Linked DNA regions of Homo sapiens: all the other regions are linked to region 1. Evidence: promoter capture Hi-C in 16 types of primary human blood cells and fetal thymus (Javierre and others, 2016). All regions are on one chromosome and are shown on one strand. The core of a region is centred on a gene start or on the middle of the fragment in contact, and the rest is flanking DNA. Distances in the headings are between cores, read along the strand shown. Region 1 holds the start of PMP22 (peripheral myelin protein 22). Region 2 overlaps ADORA2B (adenosine A2b receptor). Region 3 holds the start of ADORA2B (adenosine A2b receptor). Region 4 overlaps TTC19 (tetratricopeptide repeat domain 19).

Region 1 (7,046 bases), core at 890-3,389:
CCGACTACTGGATAGCATGGTCTGGGATTGGGCTCCTCCTAGCCTAGGCAAAACCAGACTACCACCGAATAAGCTCTAGGCAAAGTGTTCCTGCAGCAGTCGGGCTTGGCTGTCAGCCTTGGCTGGAGTCCTGGCCATGGGGTTTGGCGGGCGGGTGCGAGGTGGCCATTTGAGGTGGGGTTGGAGCAGCCAAGGAAATCAGCTGATTCATAGCCTCCTAACGTGGCCCGCCCAGCGTTACAGGGAGAGAGGCTAGCCCCCTTCAGTCTCGGCTTGGCAGAGGCGCGCCCAACTGAGACTCCCGTGCGCAGGCCAGCCTTGAGGCACGGGACAGGGAGCAGGAATGTGGATGTTAAAGGTTTCTGCCTGAAAATGCAGCAGTTCACGCACGCGCGCGCACACACACACACACACACACTTCCCTACCTCTAGTGTACTGTGTCATAGAAGCTCATCACTCTCAATGATTCAAATAATTCTATATTATTTTACGATTTGAAAGGAGCTGCTATTTTAGCTAATTGTATATTCTTACGGTAAGTAAAAATAAATTTGAAAAAGATCTTCAAACAATGATCTTTTTAAAACTATCGTGTTATCAGATTAAAATGAAGTGTACTTGTAAACACTGCATTTACAGTGCCCGTTATATGCCAAGCACTTTGCCTGGACTTTATATGCATGGTCTGTGAGAGGCAGTATGGTGCAGTGGTTAGGCACTCTGGCTCTGGGCTCCAACAAACCTAATCACCCTGCTTACTTTTGTTGTGAATTTGGGCAATTTCTCAAGTTCACTGAGCTTCAGTTTTCTCAGGTGCAAAAGGAAATAGTAATGCCTGCTTTAAAGGTTTATGGTGGTGATTGAAGGAGACAATATGTACAAAGCAGTTAACATCGTGTCTGCAACATAATAAGGGCCCAGTGCCCAAATTGCCACCACTATTATTATATCACATTTAACTCTCACATCAACCTTTCAGGGAAGACCTGACCACCTCTGCACTAAAGTAGCTTGTAACTCTGATAGGTAGGTAGGTAGGTAGGTAGATAGATAGATAGATAGATAGATATAGATAGATAGATAAAGATTTATAAATGAAAGTGCATATGCAAGTAGAAAAAAAAGTCTAAAGACATGGCAGTGTTTTCTTTCCTCCACAGGTCATTTTATAAGTTAGATTTGCTCTAGAAATTATTACTTTGTTTTATGCCATTTGGACATTTATTTATTTAACCAACACTTATGTGATCACAACATACTCAGGACTGTTCTAAGTAAGCACTTTAGAAATATGAGCATATCTAACTCAGGGTTTTCTTTCCCTTCCTTTGTGATTTTCAAATAAACTTTTTAATAAAGTCTAATACACATACAGAAAAGTGCATATATTGGGTGCTACAGCTCGCTTCTTCCTTTCTTTTGAACCCAATAGTTTAATCAATAACCACCCAGGTCACAGCCACACCATATACTGCCAGACAGGTAAACCCAACCCATCTGTCCCTCACTGCCTCTGGCCTCCTGCCTGGTTCTCAATGGTGGCAGAGGAAGTGCTACTCAGTGCCTGCTGACCAGGCTTGCCACACCCAGAGCCCGGCTGGCCAAGGCTCTGCCACAGGTGGCAGCTTCTCCCTAACCTGCTTACCAAGGCCACCTGCCAGCTGTGTGTGCACAGCTATTTTCCATGGGGGAAAAAGCATCTAGATTCCTTTCTTCCTTTCAATCTGGATGCATTAGGGTTTCTAGATGCTCTCAGATGGCCCCCCACCTCCCCAGCCAGAGTATATATCCACCTTTTAACCAAGGATATAAAAAGCCCTCTGAATCTCCAGTCAATTCCAACACAAATGCACCATCTCTCCTGCAATCCTTTTCATTTGCGGCTTGCAGGGGGTGGGAAATTAGGCAATTCTTGTAAAGCATAGGCACACATCACCCAGAGGCACAGTTTGCCAATAAAACTCACCCGGCCAAACAGCGTAACCCCTTCTTCCAAGCAGATTTCTTTGCAGCCAAATGCAAGGGATGTTAAGGCAAGACCCTCCCCACAGGGCAGTCAGAGACCCGCAGCCGACAGACTAAGCCTGCAGCTTCCAACCAGGCTCCCCGAGATGTTCCCTGGTGGTGCTCCCTGTAACTGAAGCCAGACCAGGCGTCTTTCCAGTTTATTCAGGGGCTGGTCCAATGCTGGGATATGTCATGGTGGCCTGAGAGGTTCTCAGCCTCTATTATTTAAAGAGACAGTGTCCAACTTTGTTTGCTTTCCAGAATACAATAATCCCAAGAGGCCCTGCAGGGCATGGAGAAACTGGAATCAGAAGGGAGAAGAGCTTTGAGTATGCCTGAAGCCTGTGATGCCAAGACTGTTCTCTCTGGAAGTGCCAACCTGTGTAATAGCCAAGAGGTCCCACTGGCTCCCCTCCCCTCCCAGTGAATTCTGCAGAGATTAAATATACTGTGGGAAGGATCTGTGTCTACAGTGTTACATACGTGCAGGTAAGTTTTATTTTAAATAAACTTCCTTTTAAGGAGCCCAAACATTGCACAGCTAATCTCTCACAGCATCACAGCAGTGAGCCAAATGTCTCAAGAGTCACCAAATCAAGCCTCCTTTGTTCCAACCCCTGGTTGGAAGGACTCCCTGTTACCTGCCTTGTCTGCCTAGACCCCATCGCAAATGATCACATGTGTTGTACATTAGAATAAAACTTAGGGAAATGTGTTCTTCCGACTCTGTCTTTAATGTGCCCGAATCAAGCTGACCTTCATGAGATAATTCAATGCAAGTAAACGAACCTCTATTGAAAACTATTGAAAACTTTCTAACCTGTCAGGCAGAATAGGCTGGAAGAGCAATTGGAAATTCTTGGAGAGGGAAGTAAAGGAAGTTATGGCATATTTAGGTTCTTTGCAGCGTACCACTCCAGCTCCCAGAGAGTCCTCCATCCCTTGAACCGCTTCTAGCTGCAAACTCTGACACAAGAGGACTGGTTTCATTGCATGAGTTTCCTGGAATTCTGGCACTTGGGGCATAAGACTTCCTCTTGTGTTAGGGATCCCCAGTCTGGAGAGACCTGCAGAATTTGGAGGAGTCCCTCCCTGTCACACACTTTACGTTTGATTGGACTCTCCAGTCACAAGGGCCTCTCAATGGCCCTCTCCCCTGTTCTGCCCACAGCCAGCATCTGCTCACAGCCAGCATCACAGCCAGTGCCAATAAAATAGTTTCACCTTTCTCTCTTTGCTGAAATCATTTTTATTTTTCACAGCAGTGGTTCTTTAGAATCACTCAAGAGCTTTGCAAATGACCTAGCCTGGGCCATGGTCAGAGAAGCTGACTCAGGTGTTTTGGGATGGGGCTCAGGTATGGGTAATTTCCAGTGTCTTTCTCCCCGCTGGATGTTTCGTTGTCCAGCCAGGTTGTCATGTGGAGTTAGATTGTCGCTGATTTCCTTCCAGCTCCCTTCTGTTGTGGAACCCAAATGGAGATGAGGTACAGTGTGGGCTGCTGCAGTATTATGCAAGTTATAAGTCTGTTCTGCCAGGCAAAACGGTGTGTGTGTGTGCGCGTGTATCTGTGTGTGTGTGTGTGCGCGTGTGCGTGTGTGTGACAGAGAGAGAGAGAGAGGAGCCTCCCTCAGTCCTCCTCTGACATGGTCTGTACGGGGACTGGGAACAGTGAGCATGGTTTTTGCAGCCTCTCCAGACAGTCTTTTCCTGGGTACTGCCATGATCAGCTCCAAAGGCTACACGACAGAGGCTGCTGTCCGTCAGGCCAGGATCAAGCCTGAAGACACGTAAGATTATTTCTGATCTAAGAGCTAAAGATTCAGAGGAAAAGGGGTAGGGCCTGGTGAGTGTGGGGCATGGCTTCTGGCCAGATAGGAGCAGTCTGATTAGCCCTCCCTCTCTCCTTCCATGAGCTCCACATTCTGAGACCTGCTCTCTTGGCCTCACGTCTCTTTTGCCCAGGTCCTCCATCTCCAGCAGCCAAACCCCGAAGTCCCTGTTGGCTGTCAGCAGTAGAGCTGTTCACTGTTGTGTGCCACTGGCCCTGTCTACCAGATGCCAACACACTTGTCTTTACCCATCTGGGCCAGACTCTCTTCCCTTCCCAGAGTCAGGTGAGGAAAACTCCTTCCTCGTCTCCCATTTCCAATAACCTTTTCTCAGCCAAATGGGACCCCTATCCCATGCATCTGTGTTGAGCAATGTCTCTGCAAAGCTGTAGGCTATATCCCACTGAGCCTCTTGCAAAATAAACACATAGAATAGTCACCAAATAACATTTATTATTATTTGCTATCCTCCCTTCCATTTACAGATAGGAAAAATGAGAATCGGGATTCTCTGAGGAAACACAGTTGAGTCAATGAGACTGGCTATTTCTAGCACCTGAGCTGTTCTGCTACACCACGCTCCATCGGCTCAGTAGCATCAGTTATCCGCAAGTCCTTGATAATGATGATAATAGGTTATATTTACTTCGTGTTTAGCATATGCCAGGCACCATCTTGAATATTTTATATGCATCAAATCACTTAATCCTCACAACCGTATGAAATAGGCACCCCATCATCCTCTTTTAGAAGAGGGAGAAACTGAGGCACAGCGAGATGTTCAGTCACTTTCTCAAGACACACTGCAAAGAAATGACAGAGGCTGGATTCCAACCAGGCATTCTGGCTACAGATCCCGTACTCACAGCCTGGACTATCTCACATTCTACCGTGCCCCTAATTGTGCCCAGCACGTTCCTAGCATATCTTCTCATCATGCTTCCATAGACACTATCATTTAATGTCCTATTTGTATGAAAGATATTCTCACATTATACATATTTATGCATTCACGTTTCTTTTTCCATTAAAAAGCAAGAACATATCCTAAGACATCCATTTTTTTTTCAGCACCAGTCACATTTAGTACAGCTTTCAAGAATCCTGTCTCATCCTGCCAACAAGGCTGTGTGCTCCTCCGAGGACATTTGCATTCCATATGTCTGTATAGCATAAGCACTGGCAGAATCCTGCCTGTAGGTGAGATTTTAATTTCATAAGAATGAAATGTTGTCCATGACAGTGGAATCCCAGCAGACTCTTGAAGAGGGAGGAAACCCTTCCGCACTTTATAGCTAATAAAATGCTGTTAACATATGGCAGTATCTTATTTAAGAGGAATCATTATAATCATTTTCTATGTGAAGAAACTGAGGCTTGGAAAATTTACAGTGTTTCCTCCAGGGACTAGCTAGTGAATGCCAGGGCTGGGGCTTAAAAAAGTCCATTCCTCTGACTCCCAAACCTGTAATTTTTTCACTGTGCAGGCTCCCCAGAGAGAAAACCAGAGGCAAGTCTGAATTTGGTGTTTGTCCAGGTGATGAAGTTGTTGTTGCAGCATCTATCCCACCAGGTGCTCAGTCAATATCTGAAAAGTGTTTACACTAAGAATGAAGTCTTTCCTGTGTCCTCATAGCCAGCAGCCTGTGTGGGAGTTCTTGGCCAGCCCTGGACACAGCTGGCCTGGAAGGGTCCTCAAAAGTCAGTCCTGCCTCATCTAGACTCAGCTAGACTGTTTTGATGTCGAGTGAGAGCAGCTTGTTGAAAGAACAAGCAAGGCAGGGAAAGAAGGCAGAGGGGAAGGAAGGAAGGAAGGAAGGAAAGAGGGAGGGAGGGAGGAAGGAAGGAAGGAAGGAAAGATGGAAGGAGAGAGGGAGGGAGGGAGATATAGATAGGAAGAGGGGAGGGAAGAGAAGGAGAAGGGAGAAGAAAAGGAACAGAAGGAGCCAGTTTGACTTCTGTGACAGAATCTTCTACAAATAAGCAAGTTTGAAATTATGACAGGTCCCAATCCCTAGAAGATATTCTTTATGAACAACACAGACGCAGTCAGAAAGCAACATAAAGACACACACAAAAAAAAACTCACATTGGCACAGGACTGTTCCCTAAATGACATCTTTAAAATATAGAAAGGTATCTTGGAGTAAATTGTATATTAACTCCTTCACCTGTGGGAGAGAGAAGTCACAGAATTATTATGTTGTGGCAGTGGGACCAGACCAAGTACAAAGGATTCTCTGTTCACAAATGCATTGTTGCTTAGGAAAGCCAGATTCCACAGATGCAAGTGGAGGGGGGAAAGCAGTCTTTTCTCTGACATCTCATGAGTTAGCAGCTAGAGGATTGGGGAGCAATTTAAGCAAGAGTCAGAAATGGATGTGTACTTGGGATTGCAAACTCTAAAACTTTTCTAAGACTGTTTACTCCTAAGTGAAAATGCTTCTGCTCCAGTAGGGCATAGGTTCAAATAAAATGGGGAAGCAGAGCAATCTTGCCACACGGGAATGGACGGAATGGGGAGGAATGCAGGGATTTTCTAGGCCACTGCAGACCAGGCATAGAAATGTCGAGAAAAGCAGCCTTGGCTTGATGTGAGAGATTGTCCTTATTGAGAGAGGTGCACAGGAAGGCCCATGTAACCCAAGGAAATGCCTGCTTCAGGCAGTCGAAGCCACACCAAGAAATGGAGCATTAATCTCCAGCAAGGACGAGGTGAACGCAAACGGTCCTGGATGGGACCCTGGGAGGACAAGCCCCACGACGCATCATAGTCCCCACAATGCATCATTCTGTGTGCACTTCTGAGCCTAGGGAGCACCAGTTGTACTTAAAATGAACTGGAGACCAGATGTTTTCTTCATCTCTGAGTTCCTGCACCACTTATCAAGTGTGAAACCTCAGCTAATCCAGGGAAGTTCACAGACAAAGGTCAAATCCTTTCGAGACGTTCAAGGGAAAGCCGGGCAAAACTTCAAGAATGTTTACTCTTCATTGTTAGACTAGGAAATATCTAATCTAGAGGGTTTCAGTGGTAAGCCTGGGCCTCATATAATTGTTTTACTTTAAATTTTGGGCTCAGAAATTAAAATTCTAGAAATGTATCTTTAGAAAGTCATGGATATGCAAAAATTTGGCTATAATGGTATTCATAGCCAAATAAAGGTGATATGTTTTATAACAAAGAAAAGTGTGAACATCCTAAA
Region 2 (6,099 bases), core at 2,979-5,478, 710 kb after region 1:
CTCTTGCCCCATAACTCACTTGTCATAGAGCCTGCTTATCTGATACATGTTGTATCTCTCAACTGGATACTGGTCAAACCTCTTAAGGACTAGGATCTTGTCCCTTTGTATTGGTATCCCCAGTAGTGGTTTCTAGTATTTTTTTGTTGTTTGTTTTTTTGAGATAAGGTCTTGCTCTGTCACCCAGGCTGGAGTGCAGTGGTGCAATCACAGCTCACTGCAGCCTCAACCTCCTGGGCTCAAGTGATCCTGACTCTCCCACTTCATTCTCCCGAAATAGCTGGAACCACAGATATACACCACCGTGCCCGGCTAAGTTTTGTACTTTTTTGTAGAGATGGAGTTTCACCATGTTGCCCAGGCTGGTCTCCAACTTGTGATCTAATGGCTTGAAGATGACCAAAAAATTTAATATTTGCTATTTCCCAATTTTTATCAACTCTGCTGCTAGTATTTCTCAGTAGACAGGGGCACTGCTAGACTCTTGTTCTCCAGCAGTCTGCAGAGGTATTCAGAAATGATTCTGCCCATAGTCCTAGGCAAATGTCTTGTGGTGTTTGTGGGAAGCCAGAAAGATCCTTGCCTGGAGCCACAGGTGGTGCTGACTCCAGTGCTTACTGCCTCAGGCCTTTGTTCAAGTGTCACCTTATCCATGATGTCAGCCTCTTTAAAACTACAGTCCTGCCCATCCTGATCTTTCTTACTCTGCTTTTTCATGTTTCATACCACATATATCTCCATACTGTTTATTATTATGTTTACCCCTGCTAGATCTGAGTCTGTTAAAATTTAGTAGGGATCTCTGTGTGTTCTGTTCACTGATGTATCTCAAGCACTTAGAACAGGGTTCCTCAACCCCTGGGCTGCAGACTAGTACTGGTCCGTGGCCTGTTAGGAACTGGGCCACACAGCAGAAGGTGAGCAGGCAGGCGAGCATTACTGCCTGAGCTCTGCATCCTGTCAGATCAGCAGCATTCGATTCTCATAGGAGCTAACCCTATTGTGAACTGTGCACGCAGGGGATCTACGCTGTGCGCTCCTTATGAGAATCTAATGCATCACCCCCCGCCCCTGGTCTGTGGAAACATTGTCTTCCATGAAGCTGGTCCCTGGTGCCAGAAAGGTTGGGGACCACTGACCTAGAACAATGCCTTACAGAAGACCTAGACTCAAAGAGCGGTACCTAGGTAGGTAGGAAGTATAGGAAGTCGATCGGTTTTTGGAAACTGTGACTTGAAGCAAAATGATGCACTGTATAACAAAGCCAATTTTACCACAGTTGATACTGTTAAAAGAAAAACTTCGGCTGAATTCAATTTAAAAGAGCTTAATTGAGCAAAGAATGATTCACAAATTGTGCAGCCTGCTGAGCCAAAGCAGGCTCAGAGACTCCAGTGCAGTCACGTGGTGGAAGATAATTTATGGACAGAAAAAAGAAAGTGATGGACAGAAAAAGGAAAAGTGACGTACAGAAAATGGAAGTGAGGAACAGAAACAGCTGGATTGGTTATAGCTCAGCATTTGCCCTTTTTGAACAGGGTTCGAACAGTTGGCCACATTTGATTGGCCAAAAGTCGAGGATTGGCATGAGTGCAGGCTATAGTCTGTTTACACGTCCACTTGTTGTAGTCCACGATGTACAGAGAAACCTTTAGGCCAAATTTAAAATATGTAAGGAGGCAGCTTTAGGCTAAACTTGATTTAACAATATAAACAAGAGTTAACTTCCTATGACATATACTTCAAGTCACAGTTTGAGAACCCACCGAGGACATTGAGGACTTACAGTACTCCCTTAAGGCTTCCCCACCTCTTGTCATTGGCCATCCTGTGTCACTAAACAGAAAGGAGTTGCTAAGTCAAGAATGAAGATCTTACTGAGTTTTCTAGAGCAAAGCTGCTCATCCCTGCTTGCATGTCTTTAGTATTGAGGGTAAAGGCCTTAGTGCCCTGGAAGGTGAACTTTAGAGGTTGTTAAAGGGTCATGGAAAAAAGAGGAGGTGGGGTCTTGGATTGTGGTTGCAGAGCGCTATAAACTGACCGTAACAGATGGTATTCTTTTAAACAGGTATAAAAGTTTGGTCACGGGGACCCGAGCAAGAGGGGTCATTGCTGTCCTCTGGGTCCTTGCCTTTGGCATCGGATTGACTCCATTCCTGGGGTGGAACAGTAAAGACAGTGCCACCAACAACTGCACAGAACCCTGGGATGGAACCACGAATGAAAGCTGCTGCCTTGTGAAGTGTCTCTTTGAGAATGTGGTCCCCATGAGCTACATGGTATATTTCAATTTCTTTGGGTGTGTTCTGCCCCCACTGCTTATAATGCTGGTGATCTACATTAAGATCTTCCTGGTGGCCTGCAGGCAGCTTCAGCGCACTGAGCTGATGGACCACTCGAGGACCACCCTCCAGCGGGAGATCCATGCAGCCAAGTCACTGGCCATGATTGTGGGGATTTTTGCCCTGTGCTGGTTACCTGTGCATGCTGTTAACTGTGTCACTCTTTTCCAGCCAGCTCAGGGTAAAAATAAGCCCAAGTGGGCAATGAATATGGCCATTCTTCTGTCACATGCCAATTCAGTTGTCAATCCCATTGTCTATGCTTACCGGAACCGAGACTTCCGCTACACTTTTCACAAAATTATCTCCAGGTATCTTCTCTGCCAAGCAGATGTCAAGAGTGGGAATGGTCAGGCTGGGGTACAGCCTGCTCTCGGTGTGGGCCTATGATCTAGGCTCTCGCCTCTTCCAGGAGAAGATACAAATCCACAAGAAACAAAGAGGACACGGCTGGTTTTCATTGTGAAAGATAGCTACACCTCACAAGGAAATGGACTGCCTCTCTTGAGCACTTCCCTGGAGCTACCACGTATCTAGCTAATATGTATGTGTCAGTAGTAGGCTCCAAGGATTGACAAATATATTTATGATCTATTCAGCTGCTTTTACTGTGTGGATTATGCCAACAGCTTGAATGGATTCTAACAGACTCTTTTGTTTTTAAAAGTCTGCCTTGTTTATGGTGGAAAATTACTGAAACTATTTTACTGTGAAACAGTGTGAACTATTATAATGCAAATACTTTTTAACTTAGAGGCAATGGAAAAATAAAAGTTGACTGTACTAAAAATGTATACTTGTTGCCAGGAAGGTGACCTCAAAAATTAAAAGTATAATTATTCGGCCGGGCATGGTGGCTCACACCTGTAATTCCAGCACTTTGGGAGGCCAAGGCAGGCGGATCACGAGGTCAGGAGTTCAAAACCAGCCTGTCCAATATAGTGAAACCCCGTCCCTACTAAAAAATACAAAAATTAGCTGGGTATGTGGCATGTGCCAGCTACTCAGGAGACTGAGGCAGGAGAATCATGTGAACTTGGGAGGCGGAGGCTGCAGTGAGCCCAGATGGCATCACTGTACTCCAGCCTGGGTGACAGAGTGAGACTCTGTCTCAGAAAAAAAAAAAAAAAAAAAAAAAAAAAAAAAATATATATATATATATATATATATATATATATATATATATATAAATAAAGTATTCAATCAAGAAACTGCTGTATTAATTTAGGGAAATGATTGATTGATAGTCTCATAAGTCAAATTTTCATCACATAATTTTAAGCTCCATTCTTTTCCATATACAGAAAACTACCCGTGGGGAAGAAACTGGTGAAATGGGATCCCTCCTCTACCAAATTCTGCCTTCTAGAGCTAGATAGATAGATAGGGAATTTTGCTTCTCTCCAAATTTCAAGTTTGGTTAAGTTCTTGGAACTCAAAGTGTGAAAATTTTATGAAGTAAAATTATTTAACTCTGTGTATATTAGGTTAAATAAAAATAAAACTTAAAAAGACAAGCTTAGGGTGCTGCATTGGCTTGTTGCATCTACCTTCTAAACTTTACCCTGAAGGCTGCTGGAAAAAAAGTAAGTTATGCTGAGTCCAAGTTTCCTGAGTAGCAGAAAAGTATTGATAAATTTTATCTGTTGCACTTTTTAACAAAACAAAAAGCATCTGCCAACCACAGAACATTGCAACACCTAGGCCCTGGGCTTTCCCCCAGCATTCATTCACTAGCACCTCATGTTTTGGGGGCACAAGCACAGGGCTTTCTTAGGCTGTAAAATCACCTATATCATCTGTCTGTCCACTGCTTCAACTCCTTCTGCAGTATCCCTGCAACAATATTACATGCTTATGAAATGCTGCAGACAGGGAATTCCTGTCCTTCTAGGATCCTCTTCTGGCTGTGGGCAGCTTTACCATAAGTTCTTGTCTTCTTATGCTGAAATTGATTTCATTTTCATCTTCACGTATTATTGCTTCTTTGCTCTCTCGGTGTCCAACTGAGTCTCATCGCTCTCCCTTCTAATACTCCTTCTGTCATCTATTTTGTCTTTTCTTCTTCAGACTGAAAATCCCTGGTAGTACCTGTAGTTTCCTTCCAGGACACGATTTTTAGTCTGTTCCTTCAATTGCCCTGTTGTAAAGATCAGAAGTGCAGAGTGAAACCAGTTCTTCCCTTGTTCTCGATACTAACTCTCAAACAATACAGTCTACTTAAGCTGTTTTGGCACAAGCATCACAGATATTTGAAGCTTACAGAAACCAGAACCTCTAAGTCTTTTCATACCTGCTACTGTTTAGCCACATCTCTGCTCTGATCTTCTGTTGCTGCTCAATAGTTTCCTGGACCCAAGGAAAAGAACTGACCTACTCGTCGAAACTTCATCTTACTGTTTGGCCCACCATTCCAACCTTTTAAAAATTACTAGTAATTCAGTTAGTTACTTAAGACTAAATAGGGTCAGGCGCAGTGGCTCATGCATGTAATTCCAGCACTTTGGGAGGTCGAGGCGGGCAGACCACTAGGTCAGGAGATGGAGACCATCCTGGCTAACACGGTGAAACCCCATCTCTACTAAAAAAAAAATACAAAAATTTAGCCGGGCATGGTGGCGGGTACCTGTAGTCCCAGCTACTCGGGAGGCTGAGGCAGGAGAATGGCGTGAACCCGGGAGGCGGAGCTTGCAGTGAGCTGAGATCACGCCACTGCACCCCAGCCTGGGCGACAAAGTGAGACTCCATCTCAAAAGAAAAAAAAAAAGACTAAATAATGTGGACACAACATGATATTAGGCTTTATTTGAATTTAAAATCTTGATTCCATCCAGGGACATTTTTTACCGAAGCGTCTCAGAGACTGGCTCAGGGTATTTCTTGACAAGACTGTACAGGGCTTCTCATCATACACAAACCCTCCACAGCCCACGGCTCCAACCCACAGCACCTCCTGCAGTCCTGGAGGGAAAAGGGACAGTAACATGAAGTGTCTGAAGATCCATTTCACCTCTTTTCCATGTGAATCATGACGCTTTCAATGCATTTCTTGACAGGATTCTATTTTGAAAGAATGATGCTCAATCTGTACCTTTTATGCTTCTTGTTTCTTCTCCATCAATAATATGTCAGTCAACTGCTTGTCAGAGACACTTAGCTGCTGACAGGTCCTCATAACCTGACTCAGGTAAACTGCCAAGAGATGCTTGCACTGGAATATAAAACACACACACCTATTAGAAACAGGCAGGGCCAGGGCTGGCCAGTCTAACCAAGATTTCTCATTACCATCTTATTTGGCAGGAGAAGACTAGAGCATACAGATTACGGGGTCTCTAACTGATTGTCTAAAAAGTGCAGATGGGCCGGGCATGGTGGCTCACACCTGTCATCCCAGCACTTTGGGAGGCTGAGGCGGATGGATCACTTGAGATCAGGAGTTCGAGACCAGTCTGGCTGATATGGCAAAACCCTGTCTCCACTAAAAATACAAAAATTAGCTGGGTGTGGCGGTACATGCCTGTAATTCCAGCTACTCAGGAGGCTGAGCCATGAGAATCGCTTGAACCCAGGAGGTGGAGGTTGCAGTGAGCCGAGATCACGCCACTGCACTACAGCCTGGGTGACAGAGCCAGACTGTCTCAAAAAATAAATAAATAAAAACTGCAGATAAAGATGATGAGACAGGAGTATTCTCTTTAGAAATCAGAGTGGACACAGACTTACTTTGCCTGCTGCTTTGGGAAATGGCTTAGAT
Region 3 (6,092 bases), core at 2,150-4,649, 680 kb after region 1:
AAAAAAAAAAAAAAAAGACTAAATGCCATGACTCTCTTCGGATTCCACCCTTCCTCCTCGTGTTTCCTGAATAATAACCTGTTAATAATAATTATTATAATATTTAATAATAATAATTGGCACCCCCATGGACCCAGTGAGTCCAGCTCAAATCCTAGCGTGGATCAGGGGTTGAAGGAGTCAGGAAAATGTATGATTCATTTCACAAAGACTTTGTGAAGAGGGGCGGGTTGTTGTGTGAGTCAGAGGGTACCAGGTGGGGCTGGGGTGGGGAGAGGACGGAGAAGGGAAAGCTTTGCTGGTGAGGGACACCGGGGACCTGAAACTCAGTGGACTGCAACACAGACGGGAACAGGGCACAGCCCTGTGCTGGAGACTTCCTACTTGGGTGCTATCGTTTGGAAATCTGTCCTCCCAAATCTCATGCTGAAATGTAATCCCCAGTGTTGGAGGTGGGGCCTAGTGGAAGCAGTGGAGCAGTTTCTGATGAATGGTTTAGTGCCATCCTTTTTAGTGCTGTCCTCATGATAGTGAGTGAGTTCTCACTAGATCCGGTTGTTAAAAAAGGTGTGGCACCTCCCCCCACCTCTTGCTCCTGCTTTCCCCATGTGACATGCCTGCTCCCACTTCACCCTCTGCCACTAGTAAAGCTCCCTGAGGCCCCTTGGAAGCCAAGCAGATGCTGGCACTATGGTTTACAGGCTGCAGAACTGTGAGCCAAATAAACCTCTTTTCTTTGTAAATTACCCAGTCTCAGATATTTCCCTATAGCAATGTAAGAATGGCCTAATACATTGGGTGATTCAGGGAAGGTTTCCTGATGGAGGTTGGGCTCTGAAAAGGGGAAATGGTGATTCTGGGCACAGGAAATGCTAGAGCAGAGCCCAGGCCCAGCAGCTGCAGGGCGTGCAGGAACCACTCATAGCAACCAGCCAGACACCGTTCGCCTCCTCTCCCTCTGCAAAATCTCCACTCACTCCTTTGGATATTGCTCTGACCATCCCCGCCCCGTCCTGTGACCTCTGCGGACTGGCATCCCAGCAGGATGGCCCAGCTCTCCAGCCTGGCAGCCAGAGCCTTCTCCACTAGGCCTTTTTCTCTTCACTCTCCTGGGCATGGCACCCCTGGGCAAACTCCTAACTACCACCTCTGCCTGGTATAGCTGGAACCACCCCACTGTGAAGCCTCCCTCACTCTGTAAAAGCCAGTACCCCAGGAAGCCTCCTCTAACCCTTTGCCCTCTGCCACTCCAAGGAAGTGCTATTGGAGGAGCTGCCTGATCTCTCTGGCCTTCTGTGTGGCAGCAGAAGTTTGTGTCAACTGCTGTGGGAACGTGATTGGTGGAGCAGGTGATTCCAGAACTCACGTGACCAGGACACGGAATGTGTGGGCTTGCCAATATTTTGATATATAAATCAACTGTTTTCATTATGGAAGTAACAAAACCTCAAGGGAAATAGAAAAAAAAATTCCCTGTAATCATCCCACCCAGCTAGGAGGTCTACTGTGTGTGTTTTTGACATTTTGCTGTCCTCGTTGGTGCAAGGGCAGATGTGACTGTTTATGCCTGTGGAGGGCAGAGGGGTTTTTCTTCTTCTTGTCTTTTTTTAGAGACAGGGTCTCCCTCTTTTGCCCAGCCTGGATGGAATGCAGTGGCATGATCCCAGCTCACTGCAGCCTCGAACCCCTGGCCTCAAAGGATCCTCCTGCCTCAGCCTCCCAAGTAGCTGGGACTACAGGCACCTGCCACCGTGCCTGGCTGATTTATTTTTTATTTGTTTGTTTAGAGATGGGGTCTCCCTACATTGGCCAGGCTGGTCTTGAACTCCTGGCCTCAAATGTTCCTCCTGTCTTGGCCTCCCAAAGTTTTGGGATTATAGGCGTGAGCCATGTTGTCGTCATTACAGCTACATTGAGATATAATTTATGTGCCACACAATGCATGCCTTTCAAGTGTACAGTTCAGTGGCATTGAGGTATATCCACAGAACCGTACAACCATCACCACATTGAGAAAATTTTTATCACCCTAAAAAATCCTTTACAAAATCCTTTACCCTTTAGCAGTCACCCCATGTTTTGATTTTTGCTTTACATGATTTTACAAGCATCTTTTCCTGTTGCTGGAAAATCTCCTTACCCATCCTCTTTGGTGACTGTCAGCAAAGGCTTTCGGGTGGTGAAATAGCGTGGCCAGGAGTGCTCTAGAACAATGGTGTTGGTGAGGGCTGCAGAAGCTGAGGACCCACAGGCAGAGAGGGAGGGATGGTAGAAGCAGGTGGTGAGGAGGGACTCGGGGCAGGACTTTGGGGGTAAAAGGAAGCAAGTCTCTGGAAGCAGAACCAGCAGCACTGCTGATCATTGGGACGTGGAGAAAGGCGAAGGCTCAGGGTGTCAGCAAACTTCCTAGGGTGGGTGAGGGTTGCCAGGTCAATAACGAACAGGGTCCCAGGAAAAGGCGGCAGCACAGGTTTGGGGAGAATTAGAGATGAGCTTGGTTTTGGTCTTGTTGGATTTGGGGGCACCAGTCTCTCTCCTGGCGAGAGTCGGCAGTGGGGTGTTAGGATCTGGCCCTCAGGAGGCTGTTAGGGCTGAAGCAAGAGATTTGGGAGTTAAGGGTGTGAGGGCCACGTGGGAGGCCTCGGGAGCCTGTGCCGATCCAGGGTGAGTGTGAAGGAAAGAAAAAAGAGGGCCCGGGGAACACTGGTATTTTCGGGCGGTGGACGAGGATGGGACGGCCACGAGCTTGTCTTAAGGTAGAAGGCAGAGCGGGGCCGTAGGGGCAGTGGCGCGGGCGAGGGTGGAGAACAGCGCTGAGCCTCGCTGGGAGGCGGCCGGAGGGGGCTGCAGCCCCCGAGGGCTCCTTGCAGTCCGGCCCCGCAGCCTGGAGACAGCTCCGGTGGTGCTGCGCTGCCCGAGACTGCTGCACGAGCGGGGACTGCGGCCTCGGCTCCCTGCCTGCCCGGCAGCCCCCCATCCAGTCGGCCTGCCCGGGGTGCGCAGGGTTAGCCTGGAGTGAGCTCGCCCCGCCCGGGGTTGCGCGGCCCTGGGGGGTCCTCTCGCGGCGGCTCCTGGGACCTGCTGGCGCCCCGGGCAGAGCCCGGCCCCATCCCAGGAGTCGCCCGGACTGGAAGGCAGTGCGAGCACTGGGACACAGCCTCCGAGCTCGAGCGTGACGGGAAGTTGGGGCAATTTGTTAGTTATCCGCCGCCACCAAGACGCGGCACGGCGCCTGGACCGGAGGGGCCCCGCGCGGGCGCGAACTTTGGGCTCGGGCGAGTGGGTGGTGCTCCGCCCAGCCCGAGACGGGCGGGCGCGCGGGCCAATGGGTGCCGCCTCTTGGCCGCGGGGGGCCCCGACCCGTGGGTCCCGGCCACCAGCGCCCCAGCCCCGAGGCTCAGAAGCGGCAGGCGGAGGCGCGGTCCGGGCGCTATGGCCATGCCCGGCGGGTCTCACGCGGCTGCCCCTCGCCCGGCGCGCCTTCGGTAGGGGGCGCCCGGGGCCCAGCTGGCCCGGCCATGCTGCTGGAGACACAGGACGCGCTGTACGTGGCGCTGGAGCTGGTCATCGCCGCGCTTTCGGTGGCGGGCAACGTGCTGGTGTGCGCCGCGGTGGGCACGGCGAACACTCTGCAGACGCCCACCAACTACTTCCTGGTGTCCCTGGCTGCGGCCGACGTGGCCGTGGGGCTCTTCGCCATCCCCTTTGCCATCACCATCAGCCTGGGCTTCTGCACTGACTTCTACGGCTGCCTCTTCCTCGCCTGCTTCGTGCTGGTGCTCACGCAGAGCTCCATCTTCAGCCTTCTGGCCGTGGCAGTCGACAGATACCTGGCCATCTGTGTCCCGCTCAGGTGAGGCGCTCGGCGTCGCCCGAACTCGGGGCCCCGTCGGAGCTCCGAAATGGGTCGTCTTCTCCAGGCCGGGGTTCCTCCCTCGGGGGCCCCAGACGGGCCAGGCTGGGGGCGCGCGGGGCGCTTGGAGGGCTGGTTCCCAGCCTGGCCACCCCGCAACGCTAGACCAGTGCGCCCGGGCACCCAAGACATCCCAGATGCGCGTCGCTCTAAGGAGATCTGCGTAGGGACAGCTCTAGGGGGTCCGGGGAGTGCGGTCCCCGGCGCCCGGGGAGGCGCCGTGGAAACCCCGGGGAAAGCGTCACCCCCGGGGAAAGCGTCACCCCCGTGGGCGGGTGGAGCCCGGGGCGCGGGAGTTTTGGTGATCACATCTCCACTCCTGCCACGAAGGCCGTTCCTAACACTCGCCCGCAGCGGCGGTGCAGCGGCAGTCCCGTGAGTGCTGCGGCTCCCGGAGGCCCGGGAGGTTCCCACTAAGGGCAAGGCAACTTTGGACGCTGGGCATTCGCACCGTCAGAATGGACACGCATGAGCCAGCTTCAGAACGTGTCTGCTGCGGAGAGGCGGCCCGGCCCATCCCAGGGGAAGGTGTCCGTTAACTTTGGGGAACGCTACGGACTCAGATTATATACTTTTAAAAGGAGTTACAATGCTTCCTCGTGTCTGGCAAACGGCCTTACAGCCTCACTGCCCTTGTGTAACTATTTATCTCCTGCTGCCCTGTTGGGAGCGGGCTGAGAAGTGCAGAAAATGGTGGCGAACTTACTTGTCCACTCTTTCTCCCACACTGAGAAAATCTAGGATTCAGGGGATGGAGTCAGCCAGCGACCAGAGTGGATTCCCAGTTGGAGCTGATGACTTCAACATTGAGAGTTTGTTGAAAGTATTTATTCTCTGTCTTTGGTGCCTGGGCCACTTTGGCATTTCTGAGGAGAGCTTGAGATCTCTTTAAATTTGGAGCTGAGACAGGGAAACTAAATCACAGAGTAGGAAGGAAGGGAAGGAATTCATTTATTGGGTGCCAACTCTGTGCAGACAGTTTATAATAAACGTGTCCCCAGCAGTCCTTGCAGTAGTACCAGAGGACGGGTGCTGTAACCTTCATCTCGTAGAGGAGGGGTGATGGCCCAGGGAGGTTGGAGTCTTGCCCAGGATGGTGTATCAGGGATGGGTGTCAGAGCCGGGGCTTGAACTCACAGCTGGCACCGTGTCCCCACCCATGCCATCAGGCCACTCTGCAAGGCCATGTGTGGCACCGTGTTTAGGAGTCAGGGAGAAAAGTGCTCTGCTGTTTTGGGAGGAGGAGCCTGCCTGCAGTAAACTGGTGGTTGTAGGGGAATGTGTTTGTGGGAATGGAGCCGGAGAATGCTCCCAGAGGCCATTTGAGTAGGCAGATGTGTTGGGCCTGGTCCTTGCAGGTTGTTTCGTGGGTCCCAGCAGGAACAGGAGCCTCCTGCTTGGGAGGGCTGTGAGCCTTATGTGGGTGTCTGGCCACTCCATGTGCTGCTGCCCGTGCTGTTGGACCAGGAGGCCTTATGTCTCCCATCAGGTGTGACAGCCCAGGGATTTCCAAGGCTTAGGGAGGACAGCAGTTTCTTCTCTCTCTTCTGGATCCCTTCCCTGCCTTTTGGTGTCATCGTTGTTACTTGATGGCATTTTGGATGTTTTGCATCCAGCAGAGCAGTCACAAGCCCCAGCCTGAGTTGTCCATCTAATGGAAACCCCTTGGACTTGCCCTGGCAGAGACCAGAGACCCAGAGAGGAGTTAGTGGAACAATCTCCCAGGCCACAGGGAGCAGGAAGTTCCATGAAAGTTTAAATCTGTTCCTTCTTGTCCTGGTTTGTGCTGGGTGAGGTCTTGAAAAAAATGGGTGTGGGTGTGTTAAGGGGAAAGTGCTGTGAATCACAGGCCCTGAGCTTCTTTGCATTGCCAAGGGCAGGAGGGAAGAACACTGAGGCTCGCCCCATCCTGCCTTCCTGGCCCGTCCAGAGCTTGGAGGTCTGGAAGAGGTGCACAGGCAGTCCCCAGCTCCCTGCCCCAGAGTTAGTCGTCTGACCTGGCCACAGCACCACCCCAACCCTGGTGGGTGGGAGAGGTGTACTAGGGCCCCCAGGGCTTCCCTCTCAGGGGCTGGTGCCTGGGGCAGGCCTTCCCTCAGCTGGCCTAGCAGTTCATGGCCCCTTGGGAAGAGGTTAAAATACAGATTACAGGGCCTCACCTGGTTGTACTGAATCAGAA
Region 4 (7,027 bases), core at 620-3,119, 740 kb after region 1:
TAAGATAAGGTCTTGCTCTGTTGCCCAGGTTGGAGTGCGGTGGCTTAATCATGGCTGACTGCAACCTCGACCTGCCAGGCTCAGTTGATCCTCTCACCTCAGCCTCCTGAGTAGCTGGGATTCCAGGCGTGTGCCACAACACTTGGCTAATTTTCTTATTTATTTATTTATTTATTTATTTATTTATTGTAGAGACGGGATTTCACCATATTTCCCAGGCTAAATCGAGGGGACTCTGTAATCAAAAAGATGGAGAAGAGAATGACTATTAGGAGACAGTTTGTAGTCTCTGCCACAGTGGGTTTGGATAAGAACTTAATCTCTGAGGTTGTTTTCTACTCATCAGAGAGTAGTTTAAGGTACACAGAGGATGTTGAGGGTCCTGATATTTTGATCTGTTTTCGCTTCAAAAGGGTACTTTTCTGTGTGTGAGTGTGCGTGTGTGTGGGTATATGGGTTTTACAAGGAATGTTGCATCAGACTGGCACTTAGAATCCAGGGTCATATATATATATATAAAATGGGGCCCAATTAAAAGAAAAATCTTTTCCTTATGCTTTTAGGCTGAACAACTTTTTAAAGCAACAATGAGTTACCTCCTTGGAGGGGGCATGAAGCAGGTAAGGACATTGCCTAGTATTGGCCCCTCACTGAAGCAGTTTTCAAAACAGTCTTGTCTCCTGAAAACTCCTCCTAGCCCCACCACATGCTTTGGTCAGGAAAGGTGGAGTTTCCCTTCTGAGATCTCTATACAAATTGCCATTCTTTCACTAAATGCAACAGCATGCTTGCCAAGGAATTCACAGTTGGCTCATCACTCTAAAAGAATAAAGACTGTGGCTTTGAGGCCACCGTCAGTCTGGAAGTTGATCTGAAATATGCCATGAAAAAATTTACTTGTTATGAGTTCCCTTCATTCTCTTTCTCTCACAGGAGGACAATGCAATAATTGAAATTTCCCTAAAGCTGGCCAGTATCTATGCTGCGCAGAACAGGTAAGTACAGCAGCCAGGGAGTAGGACTGTGGGCAGGAAACTTTGACTCTGGGATGTTACATAATATTCATTGTCTACTGGTCATCTGGGTCTCCCAGAAATTGGGTGTCACACTCAAAGTGTTCCATCCCTCATCTTTGAAATTGTCAGTCTTTTTCCAGTTTGCCCCTACTGTTTCCATCAGCCTGCCTAGTGGGGCACACAACATCTCTGGCTGCCCTGTGACAAAACTAACTAAGTTTTCTGTTGCTGCTTGAAGTGGGAAGGGAAGTTAGAGTTAGAACTTTAGTTTAACTTTTCCTAGAAGAGGAAAGAGCAGTGTGAAAGCTGCTGGGGATAATATATTAATACTCTGAAGAAGCCATTTTGCTGGTATAAATAGAGTTCAAAGATGAAGCATCTAGGTTGTAAGCAGAGAACTCCTCTAGAGAGTTGTATTTGGGATGAATTTAGGGAGAGACCTAAGACTAGCTTCCCTTCAGGTTTTAGTGGTGCAGAAGTTGGTGCGAGAGGTTTGGAGTGACATGGAGCCTGATGCTGTAGAAAGGGTGCTCACTGAGGCCAGGCCCTGGCACTGTTCCCTACTGTCCTACTCACCAGCTCCTTTGTTCTCATCAGGACCTGCATAGTCTCCTTGCATTTTGATTGGACACTAGATAGGCTAGAGCTTCCTGGAGCCTTTGACTTCAAGTCTTTTGAGGAGCTTTGAGCTTGGCCCATGCCAGGGAACACTGCAGCTTGGTCAATCTTTCTTGGAGTTGTAACAAACATGCCTAGTTCTTGATTGGGTATGAATCCCTAGGGTAAGAAGAAGCCCAGAGCCTAATAAACATTGTTGAGTAAGACAAATTCATAGTCTTCTAGAGGTGAAAGCTAGTAACAATTAGCCTCTGAGTTACATGGTACTCTGTACTTTTCATTTTGTTTTATTAAGAGAAGCATGAGACTAGAAAAGACATGGCCAGATCTGAGGCTTCGAAAGGCTGATATAGGTTATGAGGGGAATTGTTTGTAGACCTCTTGCTCCGACTGGGAGCGTCTTCTGGGCAGTGTCCACTTGCCCTGTGTTATGGCTAGAGAGGGCCCTCTTGCCAAGTTTTGAGCGTAGGGAAGGAAGGGGATGCTTCTGTTCTTCTGAGAACAGAGCAGAACAGTAGGGTCATAAGTTCTCCCCTGGCAAAGCACTAGAGAACAGGTGAGCTTTTTAGTGCCACTTCTGTAAGAAACTAGAGCCAAAACTGAAGAAAAGAACCAAAGCTGAGCTCCTAAATGGAGAAGGGATTTCTGTCACATTTCCTCTGCATCTCTGTAAAAAGCAGCAGTCAGTCGGCCTGCTTGGGTTGACTCAACCCTCTCCAGTTGATTGAGGGTCCAGGGCTACAGAGTTGGGTTAAATGACTTCTATTGCCATAGCTAGGAGTCCCATTTCTGCAAAAGAAACTTTTATCAGAGACTTATAGCTTGAAAGAAATATAAAATGACTAAAGCTCCTCAGAAGCTGTATGAGGTCAACAGTTGGAATCCTCACTGTAGGGCGGCCTGAACTGTTTAGGGTAGTATTACTTTGAACAGGGGTAAGGCTTTCACACATGGAGAAGTTGATTCACTGGAGGCCATCTGTTAGTGGGAGATGATGAATACTGCTGGCTATGTCAGTTATTAAAATTAGGGCAGCATTCCTAGCTTTTTGTGTCCTAAGTTATATTAAATGGATGACTTAAAAAAACTGCTTTGAGAAATGGCAGATTTGACACTACTTAGACTTTAAGCAAAGTTCCCTCTTCCCATTTTACACTTCCTTTACTGATAATGTTTAAACTGAGCTGGAAAAATGAAGATAAAAAGAATTTGTGAAAAGGTAAATGGGCCGGGCGCAGTGGCTCACGCCTGTAATCCCACCACTTTGGGAGGCCGAGGTGGGTGGATCACTTAAGGTCAGGAGTTCCAGACCAGCCTGGCCAACATGGTGAAACTCTGTCTTTACCAAAAATACAAAAATTAGCTGGGCATAGTGGCGGGCACCTGTAATCCCAGCTATTCGAGAGGCTAAGGCAGGAGAATCGCTTGAACCCCGGAGGTGGAGGTTGCTCTGAGCCGAGGTCACGCCATTGCACTCCAGCCTGGGCAACAAGAGCGAAACTCCATCTCAACAGAAGGAAGAAAAAAAAAAGAAGAAAAGGTAAATGGCTGATTATTGATTTTGCTTTACAGACAGGAATTTGCTGTTGCTGGCTATGAATTCTGCATTTCAACTCTAGAGGAAAAAATTGAAAGAGAAAAGGAATTAGCAGAAGACATTATGTCAGGTAGGAAACCCATTATCTGGGCATTGCCTTTTCTCCACAAAAGGCTTTACTTTACACTTTTGAGAAATGGAAAGAGATCTAAATTGGGAAGAGGGAAAGTTACCTATTTTGCAAAATAAGTGTCTGTCTTTAAGGTATCAGCAGAAGTTTTGGAATAAGATGTTTTATTTAAAATATTTGACTGCTGTTTTGGTGGTGGTTTTTTTTTTAACCCCCTTGGTAACATGGTCATAATTTATTTGTTAACTTTTAGTTACATATAACTTAAGGAAAATTGGGGAGCAGAAGGAGAAGGTGTTTCTCGTATCTCTTAGTTCAGCTACCAATCAAAATGCTTATTACGTTTTAGCCCTAGATATACAGCAAATTAAGAAAGAAGAGAAAAAAAGCTCATGTTTTTACAATCCATCCTCACTCATTCTGGAGGCTAGGAATAGAACTGGATGAGCAGGAAGCTCTCTAGCTCTCCACCATTTTGGGTTTCTTAATTTGGGTTGAAGTATTGAGAATTTTCAGATTTGACATTTATTCAATACCTACTCTATACCAAGAGCTACCGAGATGGTAGGGATACAGCAGTCAACTCTTCTGTACCTAGTGGTCTTCTAACTCTCTCTTGAACATAGAGTAGTCCCCCGTTATCCATGGGGAATATGTTCCAAGACCCCCAGCAGATGCCTGAAACGACTTCTAATACACTGTGTTTTTTTCTTATATATATGTACCTATGATAAAGTTTAATTTATAAGTTAGGCACAGTAAGAGATTAACAACAATAACTTTTAATAGAACAATTATAACTATATACTGTTAACAGTGTCACAGACAGGAGATTCATTCTTATTGTAGATCTTATCAACCTCAGCATACAGTTTTTTGTTTTTTGTTTTTTGTTTTCTTACTAAGTTGAGAACTTTCACCTTTTCATTAAAAGGAAGCACTTTATGACTTCTCTTTGTCATATTCAAATTGCCAGTATCACCACTCTCACACTTTGGGGCCATTATGTAAAATATGGATTGCTTGAGCACAAGTACTGCAACATTGTGGGTTGATCTGATAACTGAGACTGCTGCTAAGTGACTGAGGCCAGCTGCCGTATACAACTTGGGTACACTGGACAAAGATGATTCATGTCCTGGGCAGGATGGAGTGTGACAGTGTAAGATTTCTTCATGCCACCCAGAATGGCATGCAATTTAAAAACTTACGGATTATTTCTTGAATTTTTCATTTAATATTTTTCGGACTCTGGTTGACTGCAGATAACTGAAACCCCAGAAAATGAAACTGTGGAGTAGGAGGGATCACTGTACACCAATTTTTTTGTTTTCATCACTCCACTGAAGCTACCTTTATCAAAGTCACCAAATCCAATGGTTACTTCTCAATCCTTAACTTACTCATCAGCAGCTTTAACTTAGGGGATCACTGTCTCCTACTGAAAATACTTTCACTTGGCTTCTGGGATGCCTCACTGGTCTCTCTAGTGAGGTGAATAGACTTCCCTACCTCTTAATGTTGGCACGCCTTAGGGCTGTTTTCAGCCCTATTCTCTTTTCTCTCTGCCCCAACACCTAGGAGATATCTTTTAGTTCCATAGTTTTAAATATTAGATTTATACCTTCAGCCCCAACTTGCCCCCAAATGGCAGACTTATAATTATGATTGCCCACCCGACATCTTGACTTGAAGTCTAATGGTCATCTCATACTTAACATGTCCAAAATAGGTCTCAGTTTTGCCGCTCACAACTTGTTTCGTCACCAGTCAGCCCCAGATTTGTAAATGGCACACTACTCATTTAGTTGCTTTGGCCAAGAACCTAAGAATTGTCCATGATTTCTTCCTCATTCCTCATATCTAATCCATCAGCAAGTTATACTGGATCAGCCATCAAAATATATCCATACTGACCATGTCTCATCCCATTACCCTACTGCTTTGGTCCAGGCCATCACTGTTTCAAGACCTCAGTACCTTTGTATCACCTTTAGAATAAATTTAGAATCCCTGCATGGACCTGTAAGGCGCTTATGACCTGGGCCCACCCACCTCTTCCATGCCATCTGCTGCTCTCCCCTTGCTCGTTCCAGTCTCACCACACTGGTCTTATTCTGGCACATTCCAAGCTTAGTGCCACCTCAAGGCCTCTTTGCTTGATATTCCCCCTACCTAGACTGTTCTCTCTTACCTTTCTCTGGCCAACTCCCGTACTTCACTCAGGTCTCTGCTCAAATAGCACTTCCTCAGAGTGCTCCCTTCACTAAAACTATCATCTCTTCCCACCTTACTATTGCTCTACTCCTCTTTCCTTTACTTTTCTTCATCACACTTAAAAGTAGAGGTGTGTGTGTTGTGTGCTTGTGTTTCTCCACTAAAAGTATGTTTTTGTTTAAAAATTTTTAGTCTTTGTCTTCCATATCAAAGAAGGATAGAGACTTCATCCATTATACTCAGTGCTAAATCCTCGGTGCCTAGAACAGTGCCTGGCACATAATAGAGGCTCAATAATTACTGAATGAAAGAACAAAAGACCCAAGAAAGACCAGCAAATAAATCCAGTTTCAGTGCAGTGTGGAAGTGCTTTGAGGAAATCCACAAGAGGTGTAAAAACAAGTCTAGCTGTCAAGTAAGTCACTTCTGAACTATTTACACCTTTGCTGTCTTTCATTTATAGTGTTGACTATGGTTTCTTAGGAGTGTAAAGCTATATTTTCTGATTCAAAAAATAATACCAGTAAACACTGAAGAAAGTTTAGAAAAGCACTAAGTAAAAATCATCTGTAATCATACTATTAAGAAAGAGCTACTGTTTTATTTATTACTACGGCTTTTCGGGTTACATTTTAAGAAATAAATTTGGGATGATACTGTATATCCTACTTTGTAACCTGAGTTTTAACAATTTAGTAACATATTATGAAAACACTTTTTTTTTCCAGGCAAAGGAATTCTTGTTAGATAGAGCAAGCTAATTTCTATTATAAATATTATTTTTACATTTTACTAGTTGCACAGTATAGAAAATGTGTTACATGATTCTTCATCTTATTTTTTCTAGAAAAGGAATTCCTACCTATTCAGTTTTGCACAAAGCAAATCCATTATCAAATTTACGTGCTTTTTATTGACACAACTATCTCTATTCTAGGATAACATTACTTAATTACATAAAATTACATTACTTAATTACATAAAACCTTGCTCTAGGATAATTATTTTGTTACCTATGTTGTAGACATATATGTACTTACTGAGGAAATGCCCATAAAAAATTAAGTGAAAACTTTGGTTACAAAACAGTATAGTTAGTATGTAGACTAAAAATAGGAATGGAACAAAGGCTGAATGATAGATATCAAAATACAGGCAGTGATTCTCTTTGGTTGGTAGGTTTATAGGGAATTTATATTTTATTTGTGTTTCTCTGAGTATTCTATAATTTTGTACAAATTTATATTTTTCTTTTTAATTTCCAATGTTATCTGTTAGTATAAAAAGTCAAATAATATTAATAGTACAAAGCTTAATTTAAGAGAGCATTTTCTTGGCTATCTCACCCACCCCATCTATTTTTTTTATTTTTTAATTTTTAATTTTTTTTTTTTTTTTTTTTTTTTGAGACAGAGTCTCACTCTTGTCACCAGGCTGGAGTGCAGTGGTGCAATCTCGGCTCACTGCAACCTCCGCCTCCCGGGTTTAAGCGGTTCTCCTGCCTCAGCC

The links. Contacts are between HindIII fragments. The CHiCAGO score rates a contact against its expected background, and 5 or more counts as called.
Region 2: a fragment that was not itself captured here is called in contact with the fragment with the promoter of PMP22 in region 1 in 2 of 17 cell types (total CD8 T cells and total B cells); the score reaches 6.8 in total CD8 T cells.
Region 3: the fragment with the promoter of ADORA2B here is called in contact with the fragment with the promoter of PMP22 in region 1 in 2 of 17 cell types (erythroblasts and megakaryocytes); the score reaches 7.3 in erythroblasts.
Region 4: a fragment that was not itself captured here is called in contact with the fragment with the promoter of PMP22 in region 1 in 4 of 17 cell types (naive B cells, total CD4 T cells, total B cells and 1 more); the score reaches 7.3 in naive B cells.

What each region holds. Positions count from the first base shown.
Region 1 is chr17:15,263,187-15,270,232 of GRCh38, forward strand. PMP22 (peripheral myelin protein 22) reads right to left here and starts at 2,140. Exons shown (of 5, transcript NM_000304.4): 1 at 1,968-2,140. It overlaps LOC124903931 (a long non-coding RNA gene), which reads left to right. Exons shown (of 2, transcript XR_007065632.1): 2 at 2,270-2,723. The HindIII fragment of the contact is 20,659 bases long and covers 1-7,046 here.
Region 2 is chr17:15,972,611-15,978,709 of GRCh38, forward strand. ADORA2B (adenosine A2b receptor) reads left to right here. Exons shown (of 2, transcript NM_000676.4): 2 at 2,069-3,136. The coding sequence ends at 2,732. ZSWIM7 (zinc finger SWIM-type containing 7) reads right to left here. Exons shown (of 5, transcript NM_001042697.2): 5 at 3,950-5,553. The coding sequence ends at 5,437. Among named protein-coding and RNA genes, the nearest start is that of ZSWIM7, 24 kb to the right of the region's middle. RefSeq lists an enhancer at 5,943-6,099. The HindIII fragment of the contact is 740 bases long and covers 3,859-4,598 here.
Region 3 is chr17:15,941,731-15,947,822 of GRCh38, forward strand. ADORA2B (adenosine A2b receptor) reads left to right here and starts at 3,400. Exons shown (of 2, transcript NM_000676.4): 1 at 3,400-3,853. The coding sequence starts at 3,519. RefSeq lists a silencer at 2,956-3,575 and an enhancer at 3,403-4,217. The HindIII fragment of the contact is 5,899 bases long and covers 292-6,092 here.
Region 4 is chr17:16,003,268-16,010,294 of GRCh38, forward strand. TTC19 (tetratricopeptide repeat domain 19) reads left to right here. Exons shown (of 10, transcript NM_017775.4): 5 at 564-620; 6 at 934-995; 7 at 3,207-3,301. Among named protein-coding and RNA genes, the nearest start is that of TTC19, 7.0 kb to the left of the region's middle. The HindIII fragment of the contact is 7,124 bases long and covers 1-5,431 here.